Regions from separate parts of the Homo sapiens genome. Here regions 1, 3 and 4 are each linked to region 2. The links are contacts of gene promoters, found by promoter capture Hi-C in blood cells and fetal thymus (Javierre and others, 2016). All regions are on one chromosome and are shown on one strand. Each heading gives the region's core, a stretch centred on a gene start or on the middle of the fragment in contact. The rest is flanking DNA. Distances are from core to core; before and after follow the strand shown.

Region 1 (3,581 bases), core at 490-2,989, 670 kb before region 2:
CTGTATTGTTATTTTTATTGCTATTGTTAATATAAACGAGGCCTCAGGACTTAGAGCTTCACAACTAAATAATACCTGTGTACATCATTTTGTATTTTCAAGTTGTTTTTACAAATATCATCTTATCTGATGCACATTATAACTGAATGAGATAAATGGGACAAACGTCATCCCTATTTACAGATAAGGACAAAATCCCAAAGATTTGCAGAGCTACAGGGCTGGTTAGAGCAGGTCCCTCCTCCAAGAGCAGATCTCCCTCCCTTAGTATTATCTCACCCCTCCGGGCCTGGGAAACCTAAAGATACTTTGTGAACGCATGTCTGTATCTACAGAAAGCTCTGCTAGTTAAAGAAACTACCCTAGACCAAGCTGCGCTCTAAGGGGCTGGTGAGCTCTGTTATTTTTAAAATTACTTTAAATATTTTTTCTTTTTAATTAAAATAATGAGTCAAACATAGGGAGGATTACAGAAAATAATTTGGAACCAATCAGATTTATCTGAGGTGACCTTTTGCCACAGATGCTTGAAGTCCATCCATCTCTCTTATGAAATGAAATGTTACAGAAACAGCTCATTCTCTCCCTCCTCACTACTCCTTGCCTCCCTCCCAAGGCTACTTCCATCCTGAGTAGTGCTTTCTTCAGTTGCATGTTGATCTACTGTTATATACAAGAATGAGTTACAAGTCATATGCCATCAGCTTTGCATTTTGCAAGAATTTTCACAAATATTATGCTATCGCATGTACAGACTTTAGGCTCACTGCTGAACAATGCCCTGGGCTTCTTTCATTTTTCTGCATGTCTCACTCCTCTGGCTATGCCTGTTTGGGCTGGGAGAGAATACAGGGAATGTCCAAGATATTAGCAGTTCCTATGGCAGCAAGTGCTGGTTTCTGTGACTGTGGTTCCCTAAGAGAGGCAGAAAAGCAAGGGGACTAAGCTTCCACTGTGCACTTAATCGCAGGGCCATAGCCCAAGTAGGTTGTAAAGGCCGATGACATCCCAAGACAGGCTGGAACTTGAACTGACATTTTACAGAGGAAAACCAGGCCCAGAAAAGAGAATGGTTGCTTTAATGTCACACTTCCAGAAATTGGTAAAGCAGGAACCATCTCAGAGCTTATGACACCTTTGTACTAAACACATTGCCTTTAGGCAGTCTTATTCTTCATCCAGTAAACAGCAGACCATGGATTTGATTGTTTTCTTTCTTTTCTTTTCTTTTCTTTTCTTTTCTTTTTTTTTTTTTTTTGAGACGGGAGTCTTGCTTTGTCGCCCAGGCTGGTGTGCAGTGGCGCAAACTTGGATTTGATTGTTTTCTTGCCTCTGCTCCCCTGAGGAAAATGCCAGCAAACTATAAAATTTCATTCCCTGAGATCCTGGCAAGCTACATTGGACTTAGGTGTCTGCTGTTTCTGGGAGGCAGCAAGGATCTGAGTTTGGGGGAAGATCAGGTCACCGGGCTGAAGAGTAGCCCGAAGATCTTTTTTACCTGGATCGCCCTCTGGTGGCAGATTCGATAACAACCGCTCTAATTCATCATCTGAAATGCAAAGTGGTTGCAGCTCAAGTTTTCCTTGCTCCTCTTGGGACTTGCTCGTTCCTCATTAAAGCATCCCTATGCCCACTCTATACAAGACACATTTACTTTGAGCTGCATCCCTGAGATAATCGACTCCAAGCCAATATTTCTGTGTGTCAGTCACAGTAACTGGAGCTGTGGCATGGAAAATAAGAAGAAAGCATTGTTCCTGACCCCAAGGAATTTAAGTTAACTGGGTGAGACAGGCATACAGGCAGCTGACCAGACTCGGAGTCAGTGTGACCGAGAATGGACAGGCTGGGGGAATGCAGAGGGAGGAGGCCTTGGTGGGGAAGCTAGTGTCTGAGTTCTCAAGGAGCAATGGGAATTCTGAAGTTGGAGAGGGGCAGGGACACTGGAGGAGGGGAGGACAGGGCATGGCCCCTTCCTCCCTCCCTGTTTCCCCTTCTCCTTGGGGCCTTGCTCTCTTTCTCTTCCTCTTTACTCACCCCAGTACCAATAGCCCTACAATTCATGACCACCCGAAGCGTCCATTTTCTGGGAGAAGATTGGGCTCCTTAGCCTCTTCCTACAGACCTTTCTCTCTGAGTCTTCCCATGGGTCCTTCTGACATCTGAATAGAATGACCAAGGCATAAATCTCAATCATCGAGGTTTATTAAGTCAGCTTGAGGGTGCTTCCGGGAAAAATACAAGCCACAGGTACATCTGTGGCTGTTTTTCTCAAGAGAGTTTCAGGGGATTTAGTATTTACACATTTCCTTAAATGGGGGAAAGGCTTTTAGGAAAAAGGGCAGACAGGTGGTAAGGCGAATGGCTACATTCCTGTGAGACTCTAGCTGCTGCCTGGTAAATCTACATTTTACATAAGACAAATTGGATGTTTGAAAATAAAAAGAGAGTAAAGGAAGAGTCAAGTATGCAGATGTCTCTGGGTAGGTATAGGAATGAGTCTTGTCTTTATTCTGCACCTGCACTTCTATCTAAGCTTGCGATCAACATTATCAGCATGGAATCAACTTTAATTTTAGGAGCTAGGCTGGGCACGGTGGCTCACGCCTGTAATCCCAGCACTTTGGGAGGCCAAGGCGGGCAGATCACTTGGGGTCAGGAACTCGAGACCAGCCTGGATGAAATGGTGAAACTCCATCTCTACTAAAAATACAAAAATTAAGGCCGGGTACAATGGCTCATGCCTGTAATCCCAGCACTTTGGGAGGTCAAGGCAAGTGGATCACCTAAGGTCAGGAGTTCGAGACCAGCCTGACCAACATGGTGAAACCCTATCTCTACTAAAAATACAACAATTAGCTGGGTGTGGTGGCGCATGCCTGTCCAAGCTACTCAGGAGGCTGAGACAGGATAATCGCTTGAACCCAGGAGGCGGAGGTTGCAGTGAGCTGAGATCACGCCATTGCACTCCAGCCCAGGCAATAAGAATGAAATTCCTTCTCAAAAAAAAAAAAAAAAAAAAAATTAGCCAGGCATGGTGGCATGCACCTGTAATCTCAGCTACTTGGAAGGCTGAGGCAGGAGAATCGCATGAACCCAGGGGGCAGAGGTTGCAGTGAGCCGAGATCGCATCACTGCATTCCAGCCTGGGTGACAGAATGAGAGTTAGTCTCAAAAAAAAAAAAAAAAGAAATTAAGAACTAGACTTAGTTTGTAGACCTAAAGTTACAATTGGCATGTCCTTGTGTTGCCAAAAAAAAAAGAGGTCCCAATCCAGACCCTAAGAGAAAGTTCTTGGATCTCGTGCAGGAGGGAATTCCAGGCAAGTCACAGAGTTCAGTGGGGAGGGAAGGTTTATTGACGGCTACTCAAATACAGGGTAGGGTGTCCTCAGAAAGCAAGCGGAGGAATGCCTCGTCTTTACATTTTTCGTATATAGGAGTCTTCTCTATGTGGAGACTGAACTAAGCTGTGTCTACCTGTGTGGGTGGGCTGGAAGCATGACCAAATTTATTATTCTGTTGATTTAAAGAAAACTACTGGTGGCACATGCCTGTAATCTAGCATTGGGAGGCCAAGGT
Region 2 (3,358 bases), core at 377-2,876:
GCCACCACGCCCAGCCGTTCCTTATGTTTCTATAGTCAGAAGCATGCAACGATGCAATGCATCTCCTCCCCATGCACAGAGATCCACACAGAACCCTCTGCATGAGGAGTGCCACTCAGTGACTGCATTAGGCCTAACTGCTTGCCTCTGTCATCATCAGCTTCAGGTATCATTTATTACCTACTGACTGTATGATGTGCTCTGTGTTAACTCCTGTCTTCTGTTATCCCTTTTTCATCCTCTCAGCAATCTCATTTAGAAATGAGGAAACTCAGCCTCAGAGAGATGAAGCAAGTTGCCTGAGGTCACACAGCAAGTTAGATGCTGGAGCCCAGGTGGAAATCCAGGTCTGCCTTTCTATTTCAAACTCTTATTCACCACACTGGGAAACCACTTTGATAATGTTGCAATGCCAAAATGAAAGAAAACTCCTCAAACTACGTGAACTAAATTCTCAGTAGCCTTTACTAAGCATTTCTATCAACACAAATCTTGCGCAGTGAGGAGACAAAAGATGCCCCTTCATCGTCAAACTCATAACTTGGCATTGAACTGTTCGACTTTAAGATCCTTACAATTTCTTAAATGCTATAATTGTGAAGTCTAGTTATTTAAAATGTTTTGTATATAAAGAAAATAACTTTTAAAGGTGATTCCTTACTGCTTATTTCACTGGGCAATCTGATATAAGGTCTTTTCCTAACTTGGGTGATCAAAACACTACTCATTCAGGCAATAGATGCTGATTCCCCTTACAACAAAATGCAGGCTAAAATTAGCCAAGCTGGTTTTCCTGCATTCCTTTCCTATCTTTCTGTGCCTTCATTTTTGAGTGAACGTCTAGTCTGCAGCAAGCTGTTACTTGTCAAGGATAGCAGCAAACTTCAGCCGGGAAAACGCATCTAAGGAGACCAAAACAAGAAGCAAAGTTACTGGCAGAGTGCTGAAAAGCCCTTCGCAGACAGTCAAAGAAACGAAAGCATGGAGGGATGGAGAGCAGGAAGGAGGAAAGATGAGGGGGAAACAGTCCCCGACCCTTCCCCTGGAATATCTGAAGGTGCTTGGTGTTCGAAGGCCACCCGACCTGTCTTTTGCCAGCTCTGCAGGATCCTGGGGCGGATGTTGGGTGGATAAAGCATGCCCCTTACTCCCATTAAGGCAGCACCTGCGGCTGAACTGAAAGTTTATTTTGCGGCCAGATGCGTAGGGCCGGAGAAGGTGGTCACATCCAGACGAAATTATTTTCAATCAACAGCTATTTAAGTACAAGAGGCTGCAGAAAGAAAGGGGCTAAGGGGGCTCAGGAGCCACTGGTGCCCATGAAAGCCTCCCAACCTCTAGCTCCCCAGCCCTAGCTCCGGAGCACCCACCTCCTTTCCAGGAGCCCGTAGCGTCCAGCCTCGCAGTCGCGCACGTGGAGAGCTGCGTCCCTACAAACTACCCCGGGCCGAGCCGAGGAGCGGGCGCTGGCGAAGTGGGGAGCGGGGGGCGCCCAGTGGCGGCGGCTGCTCAGCTAAGGCTGCGGCAGGTGAGGGCTGGAGCCAGGGCGAGCAGGCGAAGCTGCCTCGGGACCTCCCACGGAGGCTCGGTGCCTGCCCCCAGCCTGGCGCGGCGTGCCCGGTGCACTGCACGGCCCCAGCGGCCCGGCTGAGGGCAGCGCGCAGCGTGGCAGGCGAGGGCACGCCCAGCCCCGGGCCTGCTAGGTCTCGCTCCCGCGGAGAGGAGGCGCAGTCTGCAGATTTTTAAGGGCAAAGGGTGGCCGAAGGGCTGCTCGGCGGAGAGAAGGCGGCGAGAACCCGGGGCGCACGCTCAGTATCTGCAGCTCCTCTTGCGATGTCTCATCCTGACGCTTTAAGGCCGCCTCCAGTTTCCCTGTTCCCCCAGGCCCGCCGGGGACTAGCCCAGATGATTAAAGCCGCGCCACTTCCCCTCCTTTCAGGCATACCCATCACTCACACCCCGGGGTGCGTCCAGGCCCAGGAGACTCCAGCCTCCCGCCTAGAACAGCTGCCTCCCTCAGAAAGAGCCCCGGAGCACTTGTGGTCAGGGAGGTGAAGGCAACGACAAAACGATTCGTCTCTGAGTAAGAGGGTGGTGTCAGTCTCCAGAAGGCTGAGGCTCCCGACCAGGGGAGACTCCAGGAGACCCAAGGGCAGGCTGCATGCGGAAGTCTGGGCCACACCTGGTATGGCTCACCTCAGGATCACCACCGGTCCCGCCAGTCGCCTTCCTGTTGGATTTATTTTCAAAGAGGGCTGGGGCCACCCAGGAAGGGTGGGTGACCTGGGCAGTTTACACAACCTCTCCAAGCCTCCTTTGTTCATTTAATCACATTTGTTGAGTGCTTACTGCTCTACAGGCCTCCCAATGGGCCTGGGCTCAGAGAATACAGTGGTTAATAAAACAGACATGGAAATGACAGTTTCCTCATCTGTGAAATAGGTACAGAGATAGAATGCGTGCTCTTCCACGGAGGGATTTCATGCAATATAGTACAGGCTTTAGCGATTTGCATTAAAAGGCTTGTGAACACTTAAATTTTAATAAAGAAGTTATAAAATTTAGAAGTTGAATCTGTTTTCGCTTAAACATTACCATATTCAGGAATTATTATGGGTTTGAAAGTACATTTAATTTAAAAAGGTTAGTTGAACATTGTTGGCAAATATAGGATATTATAATTGAAATAAAATCATTAAAAACTTGAAACAGAATGTCTTCACTTGGTAGCGTTTGTCAACGATGGGAAGGGTCATCTGGTCCCACTTCCCTACCTCTTAACATCATGAAACCCTGCTTATGGCCCATTAGAACTTAGACTGTGGTCAGTGCGCGCGCGCGCGCGCGCACAAACACACACACACACACACACACACACACACACACACATATATTTTTTTGAGATGGAGTCTTGTTCTGTCCCCAGGCAGGAGTGCAGTGGCACGATCTTGGCTCACTGCTGCACCCTCCGCCTCCCGGGTTCAAGTGATTCTCCTGCCTCAGTCTCCCGAGCAGCTGGGACTACAATTTTTGTATTTTTAGTAGAGACCAGGTTTCATGATGTTGGCCAGGATGGTCTTGATCTCTTGACCTTGTGATCTACCTGCCTCGGCCTCCCAAAGTGTTAAGATTACAGGTGTGATCCACCGTGCCCAGCCTGTGGTCAAGATTTTATGTGTGACCTTGAATTATGGCTCTATCTATTCATACCAATATGGTTTTTCTCTTTTCAATTGAAAATATCTGCATTGTGCTAAAGAATTCGACTGGTTTTAAGCGTTCTTCTTGGCCTAGGTTAATTTTTAAACTTGTAATTTTATGTAGTGACTTGTGTGTATATAAATGTGTATCATATATA
Region 3 (3,607 bases), core at 989-3,488, 610 kb before region 2:
AGTGAACTGTGAGCTCCCTAAGAAAAGGAATAGGGCCAGGTGCAGTGGCTCACACCTGTAATCCCAGCACTTTGGGAGGCTGAAGCGGGTGGATCACCTGAGGTCAGGAGTTCGAGACCAGCCTGACCAATATGATGAAACCCCATCTCTACTAAAAATACAAAAATTAGCCAGACATGGTGGCATGAGCCTGTAATCCCAGCTACTTGGGAGGCTGAAACAGGAGAATTGCTTGAACCCTGGAGGCGGAGGTTGCAGTGAGCCAAGATTGCACCATTGCACTCCAGCCTGGGCAACAAGAGCAAAACTGTCTCCAAAAAAAAAAAAAAGAAAAGAAAAAGAAGAAAAAAGAAAAGAAAGCAAGAAAGCAAAGAAAGCAAGAAAGCAAGCAAGCAAGCAAGAAAAGGAATCGAGTCTTGCCCTTGTTTTTCACCCGCAGTGTCTATAGATATGCCATACACAGAAGACAGACGGATTTGCAAATGCTTGGTTAACAAATGATTTCAGAGGTACAATAAGGAAACAAAATGGCTTTGCAGAGTGGGCATCCGAGTGTACTTTTGAAGAGTAGTTCCTGAGCATTCCCCAGGTGGGCACCAGTGATGGAGGCAAAGCTCTCCAGGCAGCAGAAGACCATAGAGCAGCCGCCCACCTAGAGCGTTAGTGCCACCTCCTCTCTGAGGGCTGAAGTTTCCAGGTCGAAACTTCTGTGCTCGACCTGGAAGTTTGTGCTCAGCCTGGGAGCTTCACCAGGGAAACTGTGGCAGGAGACAAGGTCTTGATTCTGAGGCCTCTCTCTCAACCCAGTACAACCTCTCTGCTAGAATTTGAAAAAAAAAACATGGTATTTGTGGTACCCTCAGAGACTGGATTTAAGGGACATGTGTTGCCTAAGTCCCATCTTCAAAATGACCCAGCAGTGACACTGTTCCTTTTTACTCTGTAGGGCACATTTCTCACCTGCATTATGGCCCAGGAATCTCAAGTCACCATCCCTACCATGGTCACCCCAATTTGAAGCAGCCTGGTGACCCCAGGCAGGAACTGATCATCAAGGGAGGCTGGAGGCAGGAGGATTTTAAAAGAAATCCAACAGCAGGACCAAAACAAGGAAAAAGGGGAGGCAGGAGGGTGGTCAACTAGAGACCCAGGAGAGGATTCCAGGATGGTGGGAAGCCCTCACCCAGCAAGACTGGTGGAGGCCCCATCTGTGCTCTGCCCCTTTCAAGAGGTTTCCTTTGCACCAACACCCACCCCCACCCTGGCCACTGACCTGCAGGAACAGCAGATATGACTGTGGGGCCCCAAGGCCTGCGGGAACCCAGGGACCGAGAGAAGGCAGGTGTTGGGTTGAGCAGGATCCAGGTTAGCCGGGGAGGGACGTGGGAGTCCTTGTCAGAGAAGGATGTGAAGGGATTGGGATGAAGGAGTCCAGGAGGAGCAGCAGGACCCGAGGCCCTCCCTCTGCACACACCCTTTTCCTGCTGGGCTCAGGCCCTGGCAACAGTGCCTTATTTATTTCCCCCACCCTTGCTCAGGCTTAGCCAGTCCTTGCTCCAATGATGGGGGAGGGGTCACAGTGGGACTCTTGTGACATCACTACATCCCACCCCTCATTCTTTCCTGTGAAATCCTCCTGGAGCCATCTCTGTCCTATGCCCTGTCCCAGAGAGCCCCCCTGCTATAATGCTTCCTTCCTTCCTTCTAGCCACTGCCTCCCTCGCCCCATCCACCCCCCAACTATTCAGTGTCCCTCAGTAAACGTCCCAAGTTTGCAACAGAAAATGAAAATGTAACTCAGAAAAGGTGGCATTCACACTTCACACCTTCATACAGAAATCCAAGCAAAGCTCTTGAATCCAGAATCAGGATGCCTTCCAGAGCCAGCTGTTTCAAGACGCTGCTAGAGGCAGTGAAGAGCGCAGGAGGCCTGCCTAGCAGCTGCAGGGAGGGGCGGAGGATTGGGGTCGCCCTCTCAGGGAGGGCAGAGGAGGGTTAGAATGCATCTGACCCTGCATTCTAAAATACCTGCTAGCACTGGATGCTGCGGTGTCCATGGTACTGAAGACAAGACTCTGCTGCCTGGTCCACCACTGTTATGACTACAGTGGCCCCCAGTCTAATGTTGCCATCAAGATTGGTAGTCCAGGCCGGGTGTGGTGGCTCACACCTGTAATCTCAGCACTTTGGGGGGCCAAGGTGGGAGGACTGTTTGAGCTCAGGAGTTCCAGAACAGCCTTGGCAACATGGCAAAACCCCATCTCTACTTAAAAAAGAAAAAAAAATGAGCCAGGCATGGTGGCTCACGCCTGTAATCCCAGCACTTCGGGAGGCCAAGGCGGGTGGATCACCTGAGGTCAGGAGTTTGAGACGAGCCTGACCAACAAGGAGAAACCCTGTCTCTACTAAAAATACAAAATTAGCCGAGTGTGGTGGCTCATGACTGTAATTCCAGCTACTCGGGGGGCTGAGACAGGAGAATTGCTTGAACCTGGGAGGCGGAAGTTGCAGTGAGCCAAGATCATGCCATTGCACTCCAGCCTGGGCAACAAGAGCGAATCTCCATCTCAAAAAAAAAAGGCAATCTAGATGCACTGGATATGACCAGCAGAAACATGGAGAAACACAGTTCTTAGTGGGGTCAGGCCTTGTGAAGTAGCAGCCTGCGGTTTGGACGAGGCCAGCCTGGCTCTGTGGTCACCCACAGTCAACCCCACCACAGGGGCTGCAGGGACTGAGAGAAGGGTTGGAGTGTGTTATCCAGCTCTTCTGAGAAGCAGACACCAAGACAGGATTAAATTGCAAGGGTTTTAGTGGGAGATATACCTTTGTGAAAAGAGTTACAAAAGACTGGGAGAGCCACCGGACCATGAAGCAAGTCTCACTCCCAATGTGAGGGAGAGAGGGGAAGAGAAGGGGTGGGAGCACTCCGGACCACAGTTCTGAGGAAAATCCAGAGCCTTCACCAACTATTTGAAACAGTCAGGCAGCAAAGTAGGTCTGGGCAACCAGCCTGGCCTTAGCATCCCCACCACACTCGGTCATCAGAGAGCTGCCGCAGGAGGCCTGGCCTGATGCACTACAAGGTAGATACCTGTGAGGAGCCACACTCCCTCCAGGAGGTCAGCCACAGCATCCTGGACACTGAGGTTGGGGACCACGGATGGAAGTGTAGCTGAGAGAACCCAGAGGTTCCTGGGCCCAGGGGCCCAAGCCAGGACCAGCAAGAGAACACTCACAGAAAGAACTAGAAGACCTCCTTGCTGGTGGGGTTGTCTTAGAAGGGAGCAGGCAGGTGGGACCAGAACCTCCTGCAAGAAACTAGAACATCATCTGTGGGGCTCAGAGATTGGGTGGTGTCAGGAAAGAGGCTCTTCTCTATTTATTTTTAAAATCAAACTTATACATTCACAGGGAACAATCAAGTAGTCAAAAAACACCTAAGAGGCTTTATCTCAGAAAACTGCAACTCTGTCCCCCTTTCCTCATTGCCTGCCCACAAAACCATTTTCCTGTCTTTGAGCTGAGTCACAGACCTTCTTCTGTGCTGTCTCCTTCTCCCAGGGTGATGGTGACCCCCTCTGTTCCCTGAGCCCTTATAGCTATG
Region 4 (3,429 bases), core at 703-3,202, 660 kb before region 2:
CAGAGTCTTTTCCATGAATTTCCATATAGAAGCAAATTTTGGTCTACAGCTGATTATGAACCTCTTTTTGAGAAGAATCAAAAAGTAAAACAATAATTGTCTGTGGATGGCAACAGTCTTAGATCAGCCATGGTTAAAGACACAATTGGCAAGAAAATTTGATTACTTCTGTAACAGAAAAAAATTTAACATAATAATTATAATTATTACTAATAACATACATTAAGACATCAGAATTATATGTATCTCATACAATTTTGGAAGACATATTAATAACACCCATAAAATATAATCCAAGGAAAGGCAAACACTGTTTCATATTTGACAAGGCTTTCTCTAGGATTTTAACATACCAAATAAACCCAATACGTCTCTCTTGGACTTTCAGGGACATTAATATCTAAAAGGTTAGTTTAAGGTCAAAAAGACTAAATTTAGAACTTGAAGCTTTGATTTTGAAAAGTTTGTCTAATATCAAAGGTTCAAAACACTTGATATCATAAAATAGGATGACAGATTACTGTAAACTAAGTCATTCACTTAGCCAAAGTGATAATTCACAAATTTACACTTCCCATTGCCCACCCCTCATGCCTTCCACCCTGAGATTTAACAATAGTGATGGTGGCAGGAGGCAGACAGGTACCTAGGTGGGAAGGGGTGGGTCCCTGGTGAGGCCCAACCTTCAAACCAGGGATGGCCTGAAGCCTGGAGGCCAAGCTGCCAGTTCCAGGTGGAGTCCCTGACTGGGAGTAAGAATTTCCTTGATGCCTTTCAGCCAGTTGATGGTGACTGGTTTTTTGGACCTACCCTTGAACCAATCAGCATGCACTTCCTCCCACTCATGGACCAATCAGCATGCACTTCCTCCATTCTGCACCTATAATAACCCCTAGACTCAGCAGGACTCAGACACACATTGGGATTACCTTCCTGCAGGTAGGAGCTACCCACTTTGGGTCTCCTCTCTGCTGAGAGCTGTTCTGTTGCTCAATAAAGCTCTTCTCCATCCTCACCCTCCAGTTGCCTGAGTAACCTCATTCTTCCTGGACTTGCGATAACAACTCAGGACCTGCGAACAGAGTGCACAAAAAGGGCTGTAACACTTTCCTGGCCAGCTCACTGAGCTGCAGGTCGTGATATGCTTCCCTGTTCACCAAACTGTGGGAGTGAAGAGTGGTGACCCTTCTGGGGACGCAGACCTCAGAATTCCCAAGCCAGAGCTGTAACACTATAGCCCTCCCGCCCTCCACCAGTGCTGGGCGGCTGCCAGATGTGACAGGAAGCAGTGGCGGGGCAGGCCAGCCCAGGAGCTGTGGGCTGGAGTTGGGGTGATGGGATTGAACAAGCCGTAACACAAATGGGCTGAAACACATTGCCTCCCACCGCTGTTTGCCATGCTGTCGCGCTGCGGGTGGTGGGAATGAGAGAGCTGTAACATGCACCCCCAACCCGTAGAGGATCTGCAGTTGCTGGCATCTCCAGGTTTTCAGGAGCCACCACATTCCCTTCATCCAGATGCTGGCAACTGCAGGAGAAGCCGCTTGTAGTATGCCTGCTCCAGCCGCAGCCTTGCATGGAGCCAGTGCCTATGCCGGTGCCTGGAGCCGTCCGCCCTGCTGCGGCAGTTGGCGTGCCTGGCTGTGTGCAGGGGCCACACTCCGCACTTGCTCACTCACACACCCTTCGCCTTTCTGCATCTGGCTTGCCCTCGGCAGGCATGGGATCTGGGCTGGTAGTGCAAGCTGGGCACAGCCTGCCAGGCTGAATGGGTGGAATGAACCCAGTGGGCGTGAGCAATATTCAAGTAGAGGCGCTGCCGGCCATGAGGTTTCTAGCTGGTGAAGCGACACCCAGAGGATCCTGTGACAATAGGATTTCTGAAATCTGCATTGGCTTGTGTACAATTTGGGCACTGTATGAGTCAATTGGGGGAAACAGTTTTTGAACAGGAGCTGCAGGGAATTAGAAAAATCTAAGGCAGACTGACAGAAAAGTCTTCAAAGGGAGACAAAAACAGGCTTTTCCTACTGATGAAATGGGACCTACTGTCGATGACTGCTACAGAGTTACTCTAGAAGAATTCAGAGGAAGATGTGAGGAGTTCACTCTGGAGCCACAGTGGCCGGTAGAGGCTGGAAAGAAGAGAGAAAGGAACTTACTGTCATTGCAATGACAATGACAATAAGATCTGAGCAAGAAGGACAGTAGGGAGAAGCTGGGAACAAAGACAGGAGGGCTTGGGATGTGCTTAAAGGAGAACACTTGGTTTATTTTCCCTGGGTTGGAGGGCTTAGGTATATTTTTGTCTTATAAGGTCCACAGTTAGATTTTCTTAAGGCACAGGGGAGCCATTGAGGGTTAGGGAGCTGGAGAGTGGTGTGATGAAAGGTATGTTTGCATAGCTTCTATAAGTAAATGTTTCTTTCCACTGGTTTCAGTGACAAGGCACCAGCTCTCCCGATACTGTGGTTCCCGCAGGAGTCCCCTATGCCTATGTAGGCACCACCCACTGTGACAGGAGATGCCCTTCCTGCCCACAGTGTCTGCCTGCATTTTGAGACTTTCTGCTTCCCCAGGGTGAGTGAGGAAGCTGGCAACAAGCCTCACTCAACGAGAGGAAACTTGAGGCCAGCTGGGCACTTGAGGGAAGGAGACCAGCAGTGGAACACAAGTCGGGGTCCCAGGATCCCTGGGCTTTACCTGACACTTCCACATTCCAACTGTGGGGTCCATAAGCAAGCCCTGCACCTTCTCAGTCTCAAGATCCACTGACAGCCATGCCATCCTCTCCCTGTCACCAAAGCAGTCTGGCCTTCCAGCTGGCCTCCAGATGCAAAGGCAGAGTCTGATGGAGACTTGGTGTCCTGAGAACTCCAGAATGGGCTGTCAGTGCTCTAATTTTTCAGGTATGTCTATTCCCATAATTTGAAAACAGTGATAACAATAATAATACCATCTATGGGGCACTTTCTACATGCAAGGCACTCCACTAAGCCCGTTAAGAATGCTATTTCAATCCTTATGATACACGTATGGTGTAGGAACCGTGATGCCACTTTTGTGGCTGAGGAAGCTGAGAGTAATAAAAGTTAATGGACTTGTCCAAAAGAATTCTTCTAACTCTAGAATTCAAACCCTCAATTCATGTGGCAGTAATTCTAAAGGGTCACCCATTGCATTTGCATGTCAGCCCCATCCTGTGAAAGTACAGATTCCCAAGGCTTCCCTGCAGACAGACTGAATTGGCCTGTCTCGGGCTGGGGCCTGAGAGAGCCTGCACTTTTAGCCACTGCACCACCACTTTCCACCTCCCCTACACTGCCGGGACAGATCGTATTTTCCCAAGATGGACACATCTATACATTTATTCCATGCCACCTGCTCTTCTTGCAATGTGATTAACCTTCCTCTTCCTGAAAGGTGGGG

What was found. The method cuts DNA at HindIII sites, captures the fragments that hold promoters and counts their contacts. A CHiCAGO score of 5 or more calls a contact.
Region 1: a fragment that was not itself captured here is called in contact with the fragment with the promoter of FERMT1 in region 2 in 1 of 17 cell types (total CD4 T cells); the score reaches 5.6 in total CD4 T cells.
Region 3: a contact is called between a fragment that was not itself captured here and the fragment with the promoter of FERMT1 in region 2, in 1 of 17 cell types (total CD4 T cells). The highest score is 5.2, in total CD4 T cells.
Region 4: a contact is called between a fragment that was not itself captured here and the fragment with the promoter of FERMT1 in region 2, in 1 of 17 cell types (total B cells). The highest score is 6.3, in total B cells.

Annotation. Positions count from the first base shown.
Region 1 is chr20:5,447,166-5,450,746 of GRCh38, forward strand. No RefSeq gene overlaps it. Among named protein-coding and RNA genes, the nearest start is that of LINC00658, 3.2 kb to the left of the region's middle. The HindIII fragment of the contact is 1,590 bases long and covers 945-2,534 here.
Region 2 is chr20:6,121,404-6,124,761 of GRCh38, forward strand. It overlaps FERMT1 (FERM domain containing kindlin 1), which reads right to left and starts at 1,627. Exons shown (of 15, transcript NM_017671.5): 1 at 1,371-1,627. RefSeq lists a silencer at 1,513-1,632. The HindIII fragment of the contact is 14,554 bases long and covers 1-3,358 here.
Region 3 is chr20:5,508,603-5,512,209 of GRCh38, forward strand. It overlaps LINC01729 (long intergenic non-protein coding RNA 1729), which reads right to left and starts at 1,400. Exons shown (of 3, transcript NR_109860.1): 1 at 1,274-1,400. The HindIII fragment of the contact is 7,387 bases long and covers 1-3,607 here.
Region 4 is chr20:5,463,858-5,467,286 of GRCh38, forward strand. LOC107985411 (a long non-coding RNA gene) reads right to left here. Exons shown (of 3, transcript XR_001754485.1): 2 at 930-1,072; 3 at 1-168. Among named protein-coding and RNA genes, the nearest start is that of LINC00658, 20 kb to the left of the region's middle. The HindIII fragment of the contact is 3,015 bases long and covers 446-3,429 here.